Linked DNA regions of Homo sapiens: regions 1, 2, 3, 4 and 5 are each linked to region 6. Evidence: promoter capture Hi-C in human tissues and cell types (Jung and others, 2019). All regions are on one chromosome and are shown on one strand. Each heading gives the region's core, a stretch centred on a gene start or on the middle of the fragment in contact. The rest is flanking DNA. Distances are from core to core; before and after follow the strand shown.

Region 1 (2,700 bases), core at 60-2,559, 580 kb before region 6:
CCTGAGTAGCTGGGATTACAGGTGCACACCACCATGCCCAGCTAATTTTCATATTTTCAGTAGAGACGGGGTTTCACCACGTTGGCTAGGCTGGTCTTGAACTCCTGACCTCAGGTCATCAGCCCGTATGGTAGGGTTTTTAAAGCATTATTGACATTTAAAGCTGGATCATTTTCTGGGGTGAGGCCGTCCTGGGTACTGCAGGGTGCCGAGCAGCAACCCTGGCCTCCACCAACTCCAAACCAGGGGGTCCCCCAAATCATGACAAGCACAAATGTCACCAAGAATCCCTGGGGCACAGAATTGTTCCTGGTTGAGAACCACTGGTCAAGGGAGGGAAAAGGCAGACAAAAGGAATAATCAGAGACAGAAACAAAAGAAAATGGGACAATCATTCAACCTCTGAAGGGCACACTACACTGCAATTTTCTGGCACCTAATAACAAAAACAGCTATTCTCAAGCCAGCTCTCTCTTATCAAGTTCCAGGCACCTGATCAAATAATTGAATGTGGGTTTATCCTCATAATGACCCTCCGAGGCATCTGCTTTTACAACTCGTTTGCGAAAGAAGGAACAGTTTGCTCAGAGAGGGAAGGCGACTCACCCAGGTTTACACAGCGGGTGGGAGGTGGTGGTGGACGGTCCTGAATCCCAGATTTCCCCCACCTCTAGCACGATATGCAGAAGAAGACTCTAAACATGATATAAGACGAACGCCTGCTAATTCTTTGGAGTTCTCAGATTCCGCTGGACCCTGCGGCTCTCCTTCTCCTAGGCAGGGACTTTTGAACAACGCCCGTTTTACAGAGGGGAAAACTGAGGCTCCGAGAAGCCAAGAGGCTGGGCAAGGTCACCCAGGTAGGGACTGGCGGCGCTGGAACCAGAGTTCCGACTTCAGTCCCCACAAACGGGGGTCCCTGAGTCACAGGGACGACGTTTCCAGGCGGTTAATAAGAGCGGAACGGCAGCGAACACCCAGCGAGCGCTCACTACATGCGGGGCGCCTTCCCCTCCCGCCGTCCTCGCCACCAGGCCGCGGACCAGCATTTCCAGGACCTGGGGCCTGGGGAAGGGAGATCAGGGCTCGAAGGGCCTGCCCGATGGCGCCCGGCCTCAGTTTCCCCTCCGCACCGCCTACTCACAGGACCCCGCGGGTCGCGGTGACCCTGGCCTCACGATCCCCAAACTCTTACGAGCTTTGGGGCCCCGTGGGCCCCGAGCCGCAGACCCCAGACCCACCAGGCTCAGCGCAGTGCCCCTCACTCACCTCTCAGGCGACCGATCCCCGACCCACCGACGGTTGCGCTTGCGCACCGCGGTGCCGCCCGGCCCCGGCCCCAGGGCGCGACGCCTGCGCAAAAGAAAGGCGCCCGGAGTTGCTTCCCTTCTGCACAGGCGCGTTAATGATGGAGGCGGGCGTGGAAGGAAGTGACGCAACGTAGAGGCGGGAACCAGCTGGTTGTTAGGGCAACTGACCTCTGCGACCTAATGGAGGCCGGAAATCGGGTCTGGTTTGCCCTCTAGAGCGGGAATGAAGCGGTGCACGGTGGAACAGTGGCTGACTCCAGCCGGTCGCCGAGCTGACCACGTGGTGCTGGGCCGGCCACGTGGTGCAGCCGCGTTTGGACACCTGGACTCCAGAGCGTCACAGCTGCGCAATGAATGGGAGTCAGTGTTACCCGCTTACTATCTTTGTTCATTTATTCACCCACCCATCTACTCACCCACAAATGCATTCTTTCATGCAGTGTGAGACGTTTGTGAGTATAGAGCCATTTGTAGACAGCAGGTGCCTAATATTCATTCAATATTTATTGCAAAGCAGCCATAAAAACCAGCAAAGTGTCTACTCTCATTATTTTGCATTGGGGTAGACGGACTATAAACTAATAAACTAGTACATAAATAGAGAAACAAATTTCACAGCAAACACTAAGAAAAAAAAAATGAAGGTAGTGTGATTGTCACTGGGAGCTAAGTCGCATGGGATGGGTAGGAAAGATCATCCTTTACATTTGGATTTCAAGGATAGGAAAGTCCAAACGGACCCCAGGCACAGGGAACAGCGAAAATGAACGCCGATGTAAAATTAATCTTGGTGTTGCTCAAGACATGTGATGAGACATTTCCAAGGACGACAGAAAACTGATCACCATCTAAGTTACAGTTGCCAGAAATGTTCTCCCAATTCATTTTCGTCCTACTCAAAATACATGCACGATTAATGGCGTGGATTATTTTAATTTCTTTTGCAGAAATAAAGGAGGTGAGGCCGGCCGTGGTGGCTCACGCCTGTAATCCCAGCACTTTGGGAGGCCAGGGGGCAGATCACTTGATGTCAGGAGTTCGAGACCAGCCTGGCCAACACGGTGAAACCCTGTATCTACTAAAAATGCAAAAATTAGCCGGGCGTGGTGCGGGCATTTGTAGTCCCAGCTACTCGGGACGCTGAGACAGGAGAATCGCTTGAACCCGAGAGGCAGAGGTTGCAGCGAGCCGAGATCGCGCCATTGCACTCCAGCCTGGGCGACTGAGCGAGACTCCCTCCAGCCCCTCCAAAGCAAAAGAAAACAAAACAAAAACAAAAAAAGGGAAGAAAGGAGGTCGGTTGTTTTGGTTTTTGCCAGTTTAATTGTAGTACATTGTTTTTTCTGGGTGCCCTAACAGTTCAAGACAGATGGTTCAAGATGTTTTTTGT
Region 2 (2,888 bases), core at 4-2,503, 530 kb before region 6:
AGCCTCCCTAGCTGGGATTACAGGTGCGCGCCACCACGCCCGGCTAATTTTGTATTTTTAGTAGAGACAGGGTTTTGCCATGTTGGGCAGGCTGGTCTTGAACTCCTGACCTCAGGTGATCCGCCCGCCTCGGCCTCCCAAAGTGCTGGGATTACAGGCGTGAGCCACAGCGCCCGGCCAGCTTTTCAATCTTCCAAATTTTGGGGGGATGTACTTAAAAAAATGATCTGAAAACATTTTCCTTAGAGTTTAAAATATGAACTTGAGAGTTTTTTTGTTTTTTAATATGGAGTCTCACTCTGTCGCCCAGGCTAGACTGCAGTGGGGCGATCTCGGGTCACTACAACCTCCACCTCTCGGGTTCAAGCAATTCTCCTGCCCCAGCATCCCCAGTAGCTGAGATTACAGGCGCCCGGCACCACGCCGGGCTGATTTCTGTATTTTTAGTAGAGAAAGGGTTTCACCATATTGGCCACGATGGTCTCAAACTCCTGAACTCAGATGATCCGTCCACCTCGGTCTCCCAAAGTGCTGGGATTACAGGCGTGAGCCACTGCGCCCAGCCAAATGTGAGGGTTTTAATGAACATCTCATATCTTCTGGTTGATTTGAGCAAAGCTCCTGCCCCCTGCCAGGCTTTGGGTTCGGCCTCCCCCAGACCGGGTCTCCGGATTCGCAGCCCCCTGGGCGGGGTCTCCATGTCGCCCGCAGCGCGATGACGTCACGTCTGCGGGTCCCGCCCCCACGTAGGTCTCGGCCCTTCGGACCCGGCGCCCAGCCCCCGTTCGCCCTGCCAGGCCCGGGCCGCCCGCTTGCATCCACCTCCTGTCCGGACAAGGGGTCGCCTCGTGAGGAAACTAGTCTGGAGTTCCCACGCCCGTCCCGGAGGAGGACGCGGGCGGGGCGCCCGAACTGCGGGGAGAGGGCGATTCCGCCCCGGGCTGAAACCAGTTCGCCCAGAAGCCAGTGTCCCCGCAGGGCGGGACAGCCACGCGTGTTCGCAACGCTCCCGTCACTCACCGGCAGGGGGTGGGCCCTAGGGAACTACCCAGTCAGGACGGGCGGGGGCGGGGCCGAGACAAGTATCCAATGAGGGACGCCCAATCGGAATCCGGGGAACTGCCCAATTTACAGCGCCAGGGGACGGACTGGGGAATTCTCCAATCAGAGTCGCCGACGTTGGCAGCACTGTCCAATCAGAAGCGCGGCTTCCCGAGCTCTGTCTAATCAGGCCCCTGGGACGGGACGCCTCTGTCCTAGCCGTGAGTGCCCCGCCTGCCCCTAGCGGTCCCTGGCGTCCCGGTTCCTGTCGCGCTCACCTGCGCCGGTAGCGAAGAAATCGCCCCGGGACATGGTGAGTGTGGCGCAGGAGAGGATCCCGGTGCGGGGCAGCAGGAACCGGCGACCGCCCGAGACCGCGGCTTGGGGGGAGCTGAGGGACGCGGGGGGCGGCCCCGGCGAGGGCGGCGCAGGACGGGAGCCTGGGCCCCGGGGGTCCCGCCCGGCCCCGCCTCCCGCGCTGAGGTCGCGGCTAGGGCGCTCCGAGCTCCGGGTCCCCGCCCGCCTCTGGCCCCAAGGCTGCAGAGCGGGGAGCGGCGCCCGGAGCCCGACTCCGTCCCCGTCGTCCCGGGGTCCCCGCGTCCCTGCGCTCCCGACCCCCCACGCCCCGCCCGGGGCCGCGACGCCTCGGAGCGTTTCGCTGCGGCTTCGGGACCCCCGGGCCGCGGGAGGCAGAGTCGCCCGAGACCCCGAGGTGCGGTCCAGGCTCCCCCGGGACCCGCCCTGGGGCCGACGCCGCGGTGCCTCCTGGGGTGCGGGTCCCTGGTCGGTGCCGCCTCCGCTCGCGCTCCCGCGGCTCAGCTCCTTGGAGGCCCCGCGCCTCCGGCCGCGGTCTCTGGGGGACCCTGGGTTCCTCCCGGGACAGCCCGGGAGCGGTGGGGCCTCGGCGGGGGCGGAGACGCCCCCACCTGCAAAGGCAGCCCCTGGGGCGTGCGAGGTTTCCTCCCCTGAGTCCCGGTTTTCCTTCTTGAGGACTTCTTGTCCCCTCTGACCCCAAGATGCCTGGGGTAGGTAAGGGGAAAAAAAACAAGGGTTCCTGGTCCCTGGGCTCTCACACACAAGGAAGAAAAGTAACTGAAAAGACTAGAGAAACAAGGGAGAGCGAGGACCCCAAAAGCAAACGCACGCAGACCCACAGCGGGGACGCCCGGGAGGCTGGTGCATTAGTGTCCTCGGACTGCTGTAGCAACTGACTGCAAACGAGGGGGCTAAAACCACGGAAATATATTCTTTCACGGTTCCCTAGAAAGTGTGGATTTGAAGACGTTTCTCAGTTCTGTTTTGAGTACTAGCAATGGGATTCCTTGCTGAGGCAACACCTGAGTTGGGGGTGGGAGGGCGTCCGTCGTGGTAGCCTGGCCAGACTTGACCCCTCCCTGGGTTTGTCACTGTGAAAAGATTTTCCTTTTTTCGAGTCAGCAGTTTTTAGGAAGTGAAACGTACATTTAATTAGTAGAAGTTGGAAGATAAAATATTTCCAGGCCGGGCGCGGTGGCTCAAGCCTGTCATCCCAGCACTGTGACAGGCCGAGGGGAGCAGATTACTTGAGGTCAGGAGTTGGGGACCAGCCTGGCCAACATGGAGAAACCCCGTCTCTGCTAGAAATACAAAAATTAGCTGGGCGTGGTGGCGGGTGCCTGTAGTCCCAGCTACTCGGGAGGCTGAGGCGGGAAAATCACTTGAACGCAGAAGGCGGAGGTTGCGGTGAGCTGAGAACGCGCCATTGCACTCCAGCCTGGGTGACAGAGCGAGACTCCGTCTCAAAAAAAAAAAAAAACTTCCAACGGGGTGAATTTCAGGAAAAAAATTAAAATCTGTGTCTTACATTC
Region 3 (2,727 bases), core at 109-2,608, 640 kb after region 6:
TGAACCCAGGAGGCAGAGGTTGCAGTGAGTGGAGATCGCTCCATTGCACTCCAGCCTGGGCAACACAGCAAGGCTCTCAAAAAAAAAAAAAAAAAAGGCTGGGCATGATGGCTCATGCCTGTAATCCTAGTACTTTGGGAGGTTGAAGCGGGCAGATCACTTGAGGTCAGGGGTTGCAGAAAAGCCTGGCCAAAAAAAAAATTAGCTGGGCGTGGTGGCAGTCGCCTGTAATCCCACCTACTTGGGAGGCTGAGGCAGGAGAATCCCTTGAACCCGGGAGATGGAGGTTGCAGTGAGCTGAGATCGCGCCATTGCACTCCAGCCTGGGCAACAAGAGTAAAACTCCGTCTCGAAAATAAATAAATAAATAACAATTTGGTATTTCATCCATCATGGACTCTTTTGCACTGATTTTTTTATGTTTAAAGTGTTGGACTAGCCAGGTGTGGTGACTCGCGCCTGTAATCCCAGCACTGTGGGAGGCCCAGACAGAAGGATCATTTAAGCCCAGACATTCGAGACCACCCTGGATAACATAATGAGATCCTCGTCTCTACAAAAATAAAAATAAAAAATAAATTGCACTAAAATACTTGATTATTGAAGTTTGAAATCCACTTCTACGGGCACGAAGCCACTTAGCTCCAAAGCCAAGGAGCGCTTTGGAGAAGAGGTCCCAACTGGTGCAGATCCAAGGTTTCCCATGGGTGGGGAGGCAGGATGGGGGGGGCGCCTGCAAAGAGGTGAGGGCTGTACGATCTCCAAGGAATTTGGGAGCAGGGGTCCCGCTTTTCTCCGCCGGGCGCCCCCAGCCAGCTGGTTGCCGAGCCCACGCCCCATCTGCACACCAGGACCCGGATGTGCAGCGCGCGGGGTGTCTGGGCCCGTGGAGCCTGCACCGCGCTGCGCTGCAAGGCGCCTCACTGTACGCACTGGCGGCCGTTGCGGCGGAGCAACCATCCCCTGCCCGACGCCGCCGGGAGTCTGGAGACGCACCTGGCGGCCGCCGCGCGCAGGAAGCCACGGCACCTAGCTGCATTGTTGTCGCTGCCACCGCCCCCTCTCGCCTTCCCTCCCTAGAGGAAACCGAGCACCCGTCCCCACCTGCGCAGGGCTAGTACCACTTTAAGGAGTCAGGCGCCGCCGGGGTAGGCGTGGTCGCCGCGAGCGGGGGGGGGGGCGCTGGTGTAGGACGGACCTGATTGGCCGGAGGCCCGGGCGGTGGCCGCGCGCGCCTGCGCAGGAGGCAGCAGCGCGCACCGGCGGCGGGAGGAGCGCGCGCGGGTGCTAATTGGCCCGGGCGGCGGCCCCGCCCGCGAGTGGTGAGCGGTCACGTGACGCGACGGCTGGGGGCTCCCGGCGCGGGGGACGCTGGTGACCAAGATGGCGGCGGAGCTGGTGGAGGCCAAAGTGAGTGAGCGGTGGCGGCGCCGGCCGGGGCAAGTGGGCGAGAGGGCGGGGGCCGGGCCGCAGGTCGAGGTCTGCGCCTTCTGTCCGGGGCCCCACAGCGCGGCCGGCCCGCGGCTCGCCGTCCCGGCCCCCAGACCCCGACCCCCGGTCTCAGGGTGAGGGCGGGGGGCGGGGAGGCCGGGGGCGGGGCCCTCCTGCCTCACCCAGGTCTTCGCGCCGGGGGTCGCTCCCCCGGCTTCAGGCAGGGTCCCCCCACCCAGCCCGAGCCCTTAGGGTCCCGGTCCCTGAGCGCCAGGCCAGGGCCGCGCCTCCCGGTTGAGGCACCGTCCCGCCGGGATGCGGGACGTGTTGAGCTACTCGTTGCCCTCTTGGTTCCGAGCCGGGGTCCTTGCTTTTTGGCTGGTGTGTTGGGGGGAGTGTCTGCGCCTCCCCGCCCACAGGGCTCCCAGGACTGCTATCTGGGTCTCGTCCCCGCCCAACAGGCCAGGCTGGGGTTTGCGAGTCTCCTGCTCGGAAGGGTCCCCCGAGTCCTGGATAGTGTCCTGCCACCGTCCAGGTGGAGGAGTCAGGGCCCTGAGACCACCCCCAAGACACGGCACGTCCTCTTGGGGTCTGGAGTTCAGGCTCGGTCTTGAGCCCCTCTTCAGCTCCTGCATTGGTCCCAGAACCCCGCCCCCTTCCCGACACCGTCTCTCACACGCCGGAGTGGGCGCTTGGGGGAAGGCTGGGCCCTCCCTTTCCCTCCCCATAGGATGGAGTTCGGACCACTCTTCTTGGTCACAGACCTTCTTTATTCTCCTTTTTTTAATCTTAAATCCTGGACTGTGCTTTGGTCCTACCTCGTTCCTCTCGGGACAGAATCTGAGGCTACTGATTCTGCTTCAGGGGGCTCTAAACCTCACCTGTGCAGCATCAGATACTGTCCTCAAACCTTGGCTGCTTCTCCTATTTTCTGCTCTTGAGCGAGTCTACTTCTTAGGTCAGACACCCACCCTCCCCCTACACAGCCCCCAGAACTTTTATGCACCCCAACTTTGGTTTCTAAGGTCCCCTCTCTTTCTGCCTATTCTCTTTTGTTGATCTCTGGAGGGTCCCCACTGGGTCCAAGGCTGGCCTCTTTAGAACAACTGTTGCTGCTGCTCTATTATACTTTGGGTCCTGTCCAGGTCCCATGTCCCATAGATACCATCTCCTAGCTTGGAACCACTTTTAATCATCCTGGGATTGAGCTCAGAGTATCCCCATTCCAGGGGATGTACCTTCTTGTAGGTGCCTACCTAGAGCTGAGGGTCTAAAACCCTTAGAAGTGCCCGCAAG
Region 4 (2,700 bases), core at 22-2,521, 610 kb after region 6:
TGAAACCCCGCCTCTACTAAAAATACAAAAAAAAATTAGCCGGGCGTGGTAGCACGCGCCTGTAGTCCCAGTTACTCAGGAAGCTGAGTGAGGCAAGAGAATCGCTTGAACCCGGGAGGTGGAGGTTCTAGCGAGCCAAGATCACGCCACTGCACTCCAGCCTGGATGACACAGCGAGACTATCTCAAAAAAAACAACAACAACAACAAAAACAGCCCCACATGCCTGTGGAAGACTGCAAAGAAGAAACTTGAGGAACTTAAGAAGCTGAGACCAAGACCGAGATCAAGTCTAGGCGTCTGCAGAGCCTAGCTCAGCTCAGCTTTAAAGCAGAGGGCAGGTGTCCGGGGTGGGGCGTGGGGAAGGCTGGTCACTGGCGCCTCACCTTGATGGGGATGCAGGCGTGGTCCTCCTCCAGGTCCTTCAGGCAGATCTCCAGGTGCAGCTCGCCGGCGCCCGCGATGATATGCTCTCCCGACTCCTCGATGATGCACTGAAAGGGATGCGGGTCAGCACCAAAGGGGTAGGCGGCTCGGAACAGGCGGGACCAGGCTCCCAGCTTCCCTTTAGCTAGGGACCCCGCCAGAACAAGATTTCAGGGAAGGTGCTGGGAAACTGGGACCAGCACAAACTCCTGAAGAAATGTTAAGTCCCACAAGCTACAGTGAACACGCGCAGAGCAGCCTAGGAGAGGGTGGTGGCTGCCTGGGCAGGAGTCTCCATTTACAGCCACAGCCAAGAACCCCTCCTTTCATGACCAGTCACCCCAATCCACCAACCACAGCAACCCACACAGCCACAACTCAGGACACAAGCCGTCCCCCCTCAGGGTGTCTGCTCCCAGCAGGTGCACTCCGTGCCCACCTGCACCATGGGGTCGGACTTGGCCAGCCGCTTCAGCCCCTCCACCAGCTTGGGCAGGTCAGCCGGGTTCTTGGCCTCCACGGCCACTCTGACAACAGGGCTGACGCTGAACTTCATCACCCGCATGTTGTGCGCGTGCTCGAAGGTGGTGATGGTGCCCGTCTTCACCAGGAACTGGTCCACGCCCACGAGGCCCACAATGTTCCCACAAGGCACATCCTCGATGGGCTCCACGTAGCGGCCCATCATCAAGATTGTTCTGGAAGAAGCAGAAGGCGGCAGCAGGCCGCAGGGATGGTTGTGCTGGACCCTGGAGGGCCAGGGCAGGTCCCTCCCGGAGTTGGTGGCCCTCCTGCCAGGTCCCAGGGCAGACTGGTGGCTTCCACAAGGCCCTGACTGCTGCGTCGGGGCTGTCAGGAAACATCCTCTTCAGAATCACTGCCCTCCTCCCTGGGTATGGGTCGACGGCCGCCACCCACCTGTGCCCAGGGACACAGATGAGCAGGGGTGTGCTGTGCCCTGGGGCTTGGAGCTTCTCCAGAAATGCCCTCACTGGGCTAAGAACAAAAGTTGTGGCTGGCACAAGTATCACCCTATATTCCTTCTATGCTCCTTACTTCTAGCTCCCGACTGAGGAGCCCAAGACTTGGAGCAGGGCAGGGCCCGCAACAGTGCCAAGGGGCCTGCACATCACCCAGCTGCTCACCTCTGGATTGGCTTCAGGTAGAGGTCCTCCTTCTTCCCAGGGGTATAGTTGGGCCCCATGATCCTGACCTTCAGGCCAGTGGAGACCAGCCCCGAGAAGACTCGTCCAAAGGCGTAGAACCGACCTTTGTCGGAGGTTGGCACCATTTTGGAAATATACATCATAAGAGGGCCTTTGGGGTCACAGCTTTTAATGCCTGAGGGACAGAGAAAACCCGCAAGCTTTATTCCAGTGCAGCTCAGCCTTCTGGAACCCTGCAACCCACAACCTTGGGCAACAGGAAGTCATCCGGCTGCATCTCAGGGCCCGGCCACCGGGACCACGTACCCATGGCAGCCTCGTCGTCCGGGGGCCCCTCGTACAGGAGCTCGCAGCGGTACTTCTGGGCCGTCACAGGGGAGGGCAGGTGGATGGTGATCATCTGCAACAAGGCGTCTCCGGCAGGCAGCCAGCGGCGCATCACAGCCTGCGGGGGCAGAGAGCGGTGCATGAGACACCTGGGGAGCCCAGGATGGCCCCACCCCGTACACGCTTCCTCTCTTGAAGCCAAGGAAGCCAAAGTCAGGACTAACGTTCTCCAAAGCACAGTCCCTTCTGGAAGGCGGCAAAGGCCATGCACACTCCTGCCAAGGCCCTCACCCACACCTGTCCCGGATGGGGCTGGCTGCTGGGATGTGTCTCCAGCAGCACCCAGAGTCTAAAGCGAAAGGGGCAGCAGCTGTCCCTGCCCAGCTGAGGACTTCAGCCCCCAGGCCTGGGCTGTCAGAGCATCCGGAAACAGCAGCCTGTGTTCCCTCCACCCCGAGGGCTGGGCCCAGGCCGCACCTTCAGCAGGGGTTTGCCTTCTTTGTCCTTGTCCTCGCTGTCCAGTTTGATGTCCAGTTTCTCTATCAGTTTTGCTGTCTCCTCTTTCTTGAAATTCATGATCGCATCAAACACCTACATTCCCCACCAAGAAACAAGAAAGCCCATTTGGGAACAGCAGGAGGAAGCCTGGCACTGCTTCCTGCTTGGAAGACTCAGGTCAGCGCAGGGGGACGCAGCACGGGAGCAGGAGCAGGCCTGGCCTGCCTACCACGGGCCCAGCCAGCTGAGCGGATCGGGAGCTGGAGGAAACCTCGTGGTGGAGC
Region 5 (2,803 bases), core at 60-2,559, 700 kb after region 6:
GGGCGATGCAAATTACCCCGGATCTGGGTCCGCCCGCCCGCCTCCCCCACGCCCGGGCCCGGCCTGCGCTAGGCCGCGCATCCCCGGGCTCGCCTGCACCGCGCGGCCGCCCGGGCCGCCGCCCTCCCCGGGGAGCGCGGGGAGGGTGACCCCCCCCCCACGGGCGGGGGGCCGAGGGGAGGGGGGCTGGGGACGGTTACACAACCAGGCGGGGAGGGGCCCCGGGGCGGGGAGGGGGCCGGCCCGCGGGCCGCGCAGCCGGAAGCCGGGACCGCCACCGGCCCCCGGCGAGGGGAGCCCGGCTCCAGGCCCCGCCCCCTGGCGGGCTGGCCCCGCCCCCGCGCCGCGCCGCGCGATCGGCCCGCGCCCATTGGCTCTCCGGCCCGCCGCTCACCGCCCCTCCTCCGCACCGCCCCTACCCGCAGGCCGCGGCGGGCTGTCGGCGCGGGGCACCCTGGGACTTGTAGTCCAAGCCGCTTGCCACCTGCCGGCTGCAAACGGCGGAGGGACTACGAAGCCCAGAGGTCCCTGCGGCCCTGCCCGCCCACCCGGACACCCCACCCCTTCCCCCTCCTTTCCGAAGCCCCCCTCCCTGTTTTTTCAGCCCCCTCCCCCCCATCCCCCATGGAGCTCAATCCTGGCCAACTCCAACGTATGCACGCAGCACCGAATAGGCCCCCGGGGGGCGAGAGCGCCCCTCGTCTTCAGCTGGAAACTTAGCAGGCGACGCGCCCCCCTATCTCCCCACGCCGGCTCCCCCCACCCTCAATGCAGCCCTGCTTCCCCTCCCCCGCTCCCCGCGCGCCTGGGAGCCCCGAAAAGCCATGCACCCGGGTTGGGGGGGGCTGGCGCACAAGCTCATGCACTTAGCCCCCAATCCCCCCTTCCCGGGCGGCGCCCCCTCCCCGCGCTCGGGATCCAGGGCGCCTCCAGCCTCCGGGCAGCTGCCAACCACCCCTTCCTCTGAAACTTGGGGGAACGTCCCCGGCTCCCCGGATCTCCCCTTCCCGAGGGGGCAGCGGTGGCCGCAGCGACCCCCGCCCGTCCCCGCCCTGCACCCCGTGCCGGGGGCCGCGCCGGGCGCTGACTTACCTCGCGGGGCCGGGCCGGGGCGCGCGGGGCCGGGGCCCGAAGTTGGGACTGGGCTCCCTCGGCCGCTCGCCTCCGGGGTCCGCGGCGCTCGCTCTGCCCGCGTCGCGCTGCCCTGGTCGCTCCCTCGCGCGGCGGCGGCGGCGTCACTGCCCCTACAGTAACTGTACAGTACAGCCAAAGCCCCGTATGATGCTCGCGACTCCCTTCCTGGTTTCTCCGAGGGCAAGAGGGGTCCTCCCTTGTCTTAAAGGTGCCGCAGCCGCCGGCCCCCCCACGCCCAGCCCGCCCCCCCCAGCCTGGCCTCGGAGGCCAGAACAGGCTCGGCAGGTCCCCTCTTGCCACGTCTCTGCCCTCCCGTGGGGCTTCGCCCGCTGCGCCGGGGAGACCGGGCTGTTATTAGGTTTTGTCAAGTCGGGGGGGGGGGTCCGGCCCGCCCCGGCGCGCCCCCCCGCCTCTGACCTCTCCGCCCCGCCGCGCGGCGCCGTGCCAGCTTGCCAGCTTATCTGGCCCCAGAGCTCCCCGGGGCGCGGGGGGAGCGGGCCCCCCGGGGTGGAGGGGGGGTGGGGGCCTCCAGATAAACAGGCCCCCAGCCTCTGCGCAGGGGCGGGGTGCGGGGGGGCGCGGGCTGTGCCCCCGACGCCCGGGGCGTGGCAGGATGGCAGCGGGGGCGGGGAGCGCGGTGCGCACAGCGAGGAGCGACGCGGGCGTGTGGGTCGCGCGGCCTGGGCTGCCGGGGGTGGGTTGGGGGTGAGGCGGTGGGGATCCCCCCGCAAGGCCAGGCCCTGGGCCTCCCCGGGCCTCAGTGGGACTTGCCGCGCCAGGGACCCCGGGGGGTGGCCTTGCCAAGGACAGCCCGGGTCCGCGGGGCTCCCGGGTCCCTAAATGAAACCACCAACCTGCCCTCCCGCGATTATATAAAGGAGTCGCCTCCACCCCGCTGCGCTAGGGGCGTCAGCGGGGGAAGGGGTTGGCGAGGGGCGGGGAGGGCGGTTGTTTTCCCGGCTTCGCGAGTTCCCCCACCCGGCTGCGGGCCGCGGGGCGGGACGGGGACCGGGCCCTGGACGCCTGGTCCGCGCGGGCCGCTCCTTGGCACAAGGGGGTCTGCATGGCTCGCGAGGGGCGGAGGTGGGGAGTGGGGAGGCGTTGGTTCAGCGCGACTTTTTTTTTTCCCCTGTCCGTTTCTCCCACTTCCTCCCCGGTCGTGGGAGAGGTCCGGCGGGGGACAGGGAAGGGGGAGCAGGGCACGAGTGGTGAGAACGTCCTGGCCCGGCCCGGGGAGGGCTGGCTGGTGCGACCGCGCGCCTGGGGGGGGGGGGGAGGGCTCCAGGACTCAGTTTCCCCTTCCTCATTCCTCCAGACAGAGAGAGTACTGACAGCTGCTTTAGCTGCCGTTTAGTGAGCGCTTATCCAGTGGGTGACCCTGTTCCGGGGCTCACTGTGCCTTCATTCTAACACCTAATCCCAGGGTCATTATTATGTTTTATTATTATCTGGCATTCTTAGTACCAACACCACCTGACAGCGGGAACCACCACCGGCCTGGGTGTAGTGTACCCAGCCTGTCCTCTGACTTCAAAGCCTCTCCTGCGAGAGACACAGTTTATGGCTTCTTCGCACAATTTATTAAAAGCGCCTTTCAACACCCAAACGGGTTGGATTGGCTTTTGTAATAATAATCTGGCTACGAGGGGAAACCCGGGAGGGCCCCCCG
Region 6 (2,985 bases), core at 459-2,958:
AATAAAATAAATTGCTTCACGTTATATTGGTATGTGGATTTCCAGATACACTTCTCACCATTTAATTCAAATGCTCCCCACAGCTGCACAGTGGGTTTAAAATACACAGACACACACATTTATGGACCGTTCGTGATGTACTAAGCACTGTTTGAATAATGTCACCGTCATGCAGAGGGGAGCCTGTGGGGGGCCTAGGGAACCTACGCTGCAGGAATTCTGCTCCCTCCTAGTTTACCTGTCAGACCCTGGGCAAGTGGCTTCCGTTCTCTGGGCCTCAGTTTCCTCTCCTGTAATGCCTGAGGATAATGGGTGCTGGTATCTTCTGCGCCCCTGGGCCTGGGGCACCTGCCCCAGCTTGGTGAGAGGGTATCATTTGTCCTTGGGAAGCTCAGAGAGATGAGGTGAAATGGCCAAGCTTTCTAAGAATGTGTCTTTAGTGAACATTTGACCCAAGGTCAAGGCTCTGCTAAGGTCATTGTCCTTATCCCCAGCAATCCCACAGGATGGGCATCTTTAAGCCACTTTATAGGGGAGAACCCTTGGGATGGGAATGAGAGACACAGCAGCCTCTGAGCTAGCCTGGGAGGATCCAGGGAGTGAACCGGGGGAGGGTTGGGGCCCTGTCATCAGATGCCCTGGGGGCTCAGACGGAGGCAGGCCAGGTCTCTGCCCTGTTACGTCTAGAAGGAGAACAGAATGTGGGCTCCAGGTCCAGATGGCCTGGCTCCAAGCCACACTTGCCATACCTCAGTCTTGAGATCTGTGAAAAGGGCACACCCCTGAGGCAGGTGGAAATTATTGGATACCCAGGGGGAGGCTGCAAGGGTTTATCTGGCCAGCTGGAGATCCCGCCTGGACACCGTCCTCCTGGGGTGCTGGAGAGACACACAGGCGAGGCCACCCCTCCCCTGCCCCTTGGGTGCTGGGTGAAGAGAGCAAATTCTGGAGCCTCCCGTGTTAGCCTGGGCCCTTCTGGCCAAGGAAGGGACAGCTGCACACAAGCCCCTCTAGCTGGGGACCCGCAGCCCCTGCCTGGCTCTGGGGGGAGAAGGGAGCCAGGGTGCTGTGGGACCAGCTCACCGTGCACCCAGGGTCGTACATCTTTAAGGGGAAAGAGGCGCGCTGGCCGGCCTCTGCGCACGTCACTTCTTCATTCCTTCCCTCCCCCCTGGCTCTTTCCTCCAACTTCCCGGCCAGCTCGGGGGTGATGGGGGGGTGGGGAGGGGGGGCCTTAAAAATCCACCCCTGGCCCCTCAATGTCCAGAAACAACCCTGTCCCCCCTCTCCGCTTGATCCGAATTGGGGTCGCCCTGCAGTCCTGGGGTCCTGGTCTAGTGCCCTGGGGCATTGCGTAAATACGGGAGGAGCGGGGGGGTCCTGAGACGTCGGGGGAGGCTCTCCTTTCTCGCTCGCGCCCTTTTTTCCCTCGTTTCTTTGAAAGTTGGGTGTTGAGAAGTGGGAGGTTCGGGGTGGGAGGGGGAGGGTGTCAGAGGGTAGAGAGAGAGACAGAGAGACAGAGACGGGGGAGAGAGGAAGAGAGAGACGGAGGGAGAGAGGGACAGAGAGCGAGGCGGGCGGCGCGAGAGAGGGAGAGCAGGAGGGAGGAGGAGGGAGACCGAGGGAGGAGGCGGCGAGGAGAGCGCGCCGGCCGCGGGGCGGGGGGGGGGGTTGGGGGGGGCGGGGGGGTGGTTTGGAAAAATGACTCAGTAAGTTCAGCGCGCCCGCTCCGGCCGGCCCTGCGCCTCCCGCCGCGCCCGGGATGTATTCGTCCCCGCTCTGCCTCACCCAGGTACGGTCCTCGCCCGGCCCCCCGCCGGCGCCCCCGCGCCCCCCGCATCCCAGCCCCGGAGTTTTGAAGCAGGAGGAGGCGGGACGAAAAAGGCGCGCGTCCCTCCCGCCATCCCTGCCCGGGATGCCCCCCGCGCCGAGGGCTGGGGTCCGGTGGGGGGATGGGTCAGGCTGGGGTACCCCCCCCACACCCTTACCTACCGCGGACCCCCTACGCGGGACTCCCGCCCAGCACCCCCAACCCCGACTCTCGGGACCTCTCCCGGATGTGGGGCTTGGTCTGCAGATTTGCGTCCCCCCCCCACACACCGACGCACTCCGCACCCCCGCCCCGACACTCGGAAAGGTCGGGGTGGGGGCTGGCCCCCCTCCAGCAAGGGCTCTGCGGGAAGCCCCCCGCCTGCCTCTGAGAGGAATCTAGGGGGTCGTGATTGGACCCTGGGTCTCCCCAGCTGGAGAGAAAGGGACCTCTCATGTGTTTTCCCCGTGTCCCCCCACCAAGGTTGTGCGGGCCGCCCTGGCCCTCGGTCGCCTTTCCCTCGTTATTGGCCCACGTGTGCATGGAGGGGGAGGGGGCAGGAGAAGTTGGAGGCCCAGGAGGGGGAAGGGTGCTCCGGCGGCCCGGCTGGGTCCCCCCTCCTTTGCAAGCCCCCCAGCACCGTCCCGGTATTTTCGCTGCATCGATTCTGGATTCTGGATTCTGGATTCTGGAGCCGCCGCCGGGAGGAGCGGGAGGCCCGGCGCTCCGGGTCTGGCCCGGGCACTGCGGCGCTGCGGACGCCCTCGCCAGCCCGGCACCTGCCCCGTCCCCTCCCCCTCCCCCTCCCCCTCCCGTAGCCTCTCACCCCTGGCCGCACTCCCAGACTGCCCCGGGGCCGAGCCTTGTGCAATGGCCGAGGGGGTGTGTGGGGAGGGGGCGGCTCCCCCCGGGGACTCCTTCCAGCCCAGGCTCCCGGGGACCCCGAGGTCTGCAAGTTCCGTTTTCTAGACCGCTGCTTTCCTCCTTACGCAGTGTGTCTTTAGGCTGGAGAGGTTCTGGCCTCAGTTTCCCCTGAAGTGAGGTGCGGCTAAGGCCGGTTCTGGAGAGGGGACAGTATGGCGGGCAAACTGTAAAGTCCCGGCACGTGGGGGGTGCGATTCCAGCGAGGGCCAGGCCCGTCTTAAGAAGCACTGTGTGGGGAGTATATGAGTCCC

The links. The method cuts DNA at HindIII sites, captures the fragments that hold promoters and counts their contacts. A contact is called where the count stands out against the background at its distance.
Region 1: the fragment with the promoter of SGTA here is called in contact with the fragment with the promoter of NFIC in region 6 in 1 of the 25 tissues and cell types used here (spleen).
Region 2: a contact is called between the fragment with the promoter of ZNF555 here and the fragment with the promoter of NFIC in region 6, in 3 of the 25 tissues and cell types used here (dorsolateral prefrontal cortex, heart left ventricle and small bowel).
Region 3: a contact is called between the fragment with the promoter of PIAS4 here and the fragment with the promoter of NFIC in region 6, in 1 of the 25 tissues and cell types used here (spleen).
Region 4: a fragment that was not itself captured here is called in contact with the fragment with the promoter of NFIC in region 6 in 1 of the 25 tissues and cell types used here (lymphoblastoid cells).
Region 5: a contact is called between the fragment with the promoter of ZBTB7A here and the fragment with the promoter of NFIC in region 6, in 1 of the 25 tissues and cell types used here (dorsolateral prefrontal cortex).

Annotation. Positions count from the first base shown.
Region 1 is chr19:2,781,964-2,784,663 of GRCh38, forward strand. SGTA (small glutamine rich tetratricopeptide repeat co-chaperone alpha) reads right to left here and starts at 1,310. Exons shown (of 12, transcript NM_003021.4): 1 at 1,270-1,310. RefSeq lists enhancers at 76-175, 1,672-1,741 and a silencer at 1,232-1,281. The HindIII fragment of the contact is 32,124 bases long and covers 1-2,700 here.
Region 2 is chr19:2,840,222-2,843,109 of GRCh38, forward strand. ZNF555 (zinc finger protein 555) reads left to right here and starts at 1,254. Exons shown (of 4, transcript NM_152791.5): 1 at 1,254-1,354. The coding sequence starts at 1,352. RefSeq lists silencers at 715-824, 835-1,024, 1,245-1,544, 1,585-1,634. The HindIII fragment of the contact is 15,507 bases long and covers 1-2,888 here.
Region 3 is chr19:4,006,378-4,009,104 of GRCh38, forward strand. It overlaps PIAS4 (protein inhibitor of activated STAT 4), which reads left to right and starts at 1,359. Exons shown (of 11, transcript NM_015897.4): 1 at 1,359-1,410. The coding sequence starts at 1,384. RefSeq lists enhancers at 385-1,276, 793-922, 1,277-2,167 and silencers at 1,123-1,422, 1,453-1,512. The HindIII fragment of the contact is 22,791 bases long and covers 1-2,727 here.
Region 4 is chr19:3,978,944-3,981,643 of GRCh38, forward strand. EEF2 (eukaryotic translation elongation factor 2) reads right to left here. Exons shown (of 15, transcript NM_001961.4): 7 at 2,396-2,509; 8 at 1,898-2,036; 9 at 1,571-1,766; 10 at 865-1,123; 11 at 386-493. Among named protein-coding and RNA genes, the nearest start is that of SNORD37, 2.3 kb to the right of the region's middle. RefSeq lists an enhancer at 2,530-2,700. The HindIII fragment of the contact is 5,039 bases long and covers 1-2,700 here.
Region 5 is chr19:4,065,590-4,068,392 of GRCh38, forward strand. It overlaps ZBTB7A (zinc finger and BTB domain containing 7A), which reads right to left and starts at 1,310. Exons shown (of 3, transcript NM_015898.4): 1 at 1,093-1,310. RefSeq lists silencers at 1-610, 1,091-1,290, 1,301-1,350, 1,391-1,450, 1,661-1,770 and 1 more. The HindIII fragment of the contact is 23,363 bases long and covers 1-2,803 here.
Region 6 is chr19:3,364,875-3,367,859 of GRCh38, forward strand. It overlaps NFIC (nuclear factor I C), which reads left to right and starts at 1,709. Exons shown (of 11, transcript NM_001245002.2): 1 at 1,709-1,792. The coding sequence starts at 1,763. RefSeq lists silencers at 1,338-1,427, 1,878-2,027, 2,318-2,717. The HindIII fragment of the contact is 27,364 bases long and covers 1-2,985 here.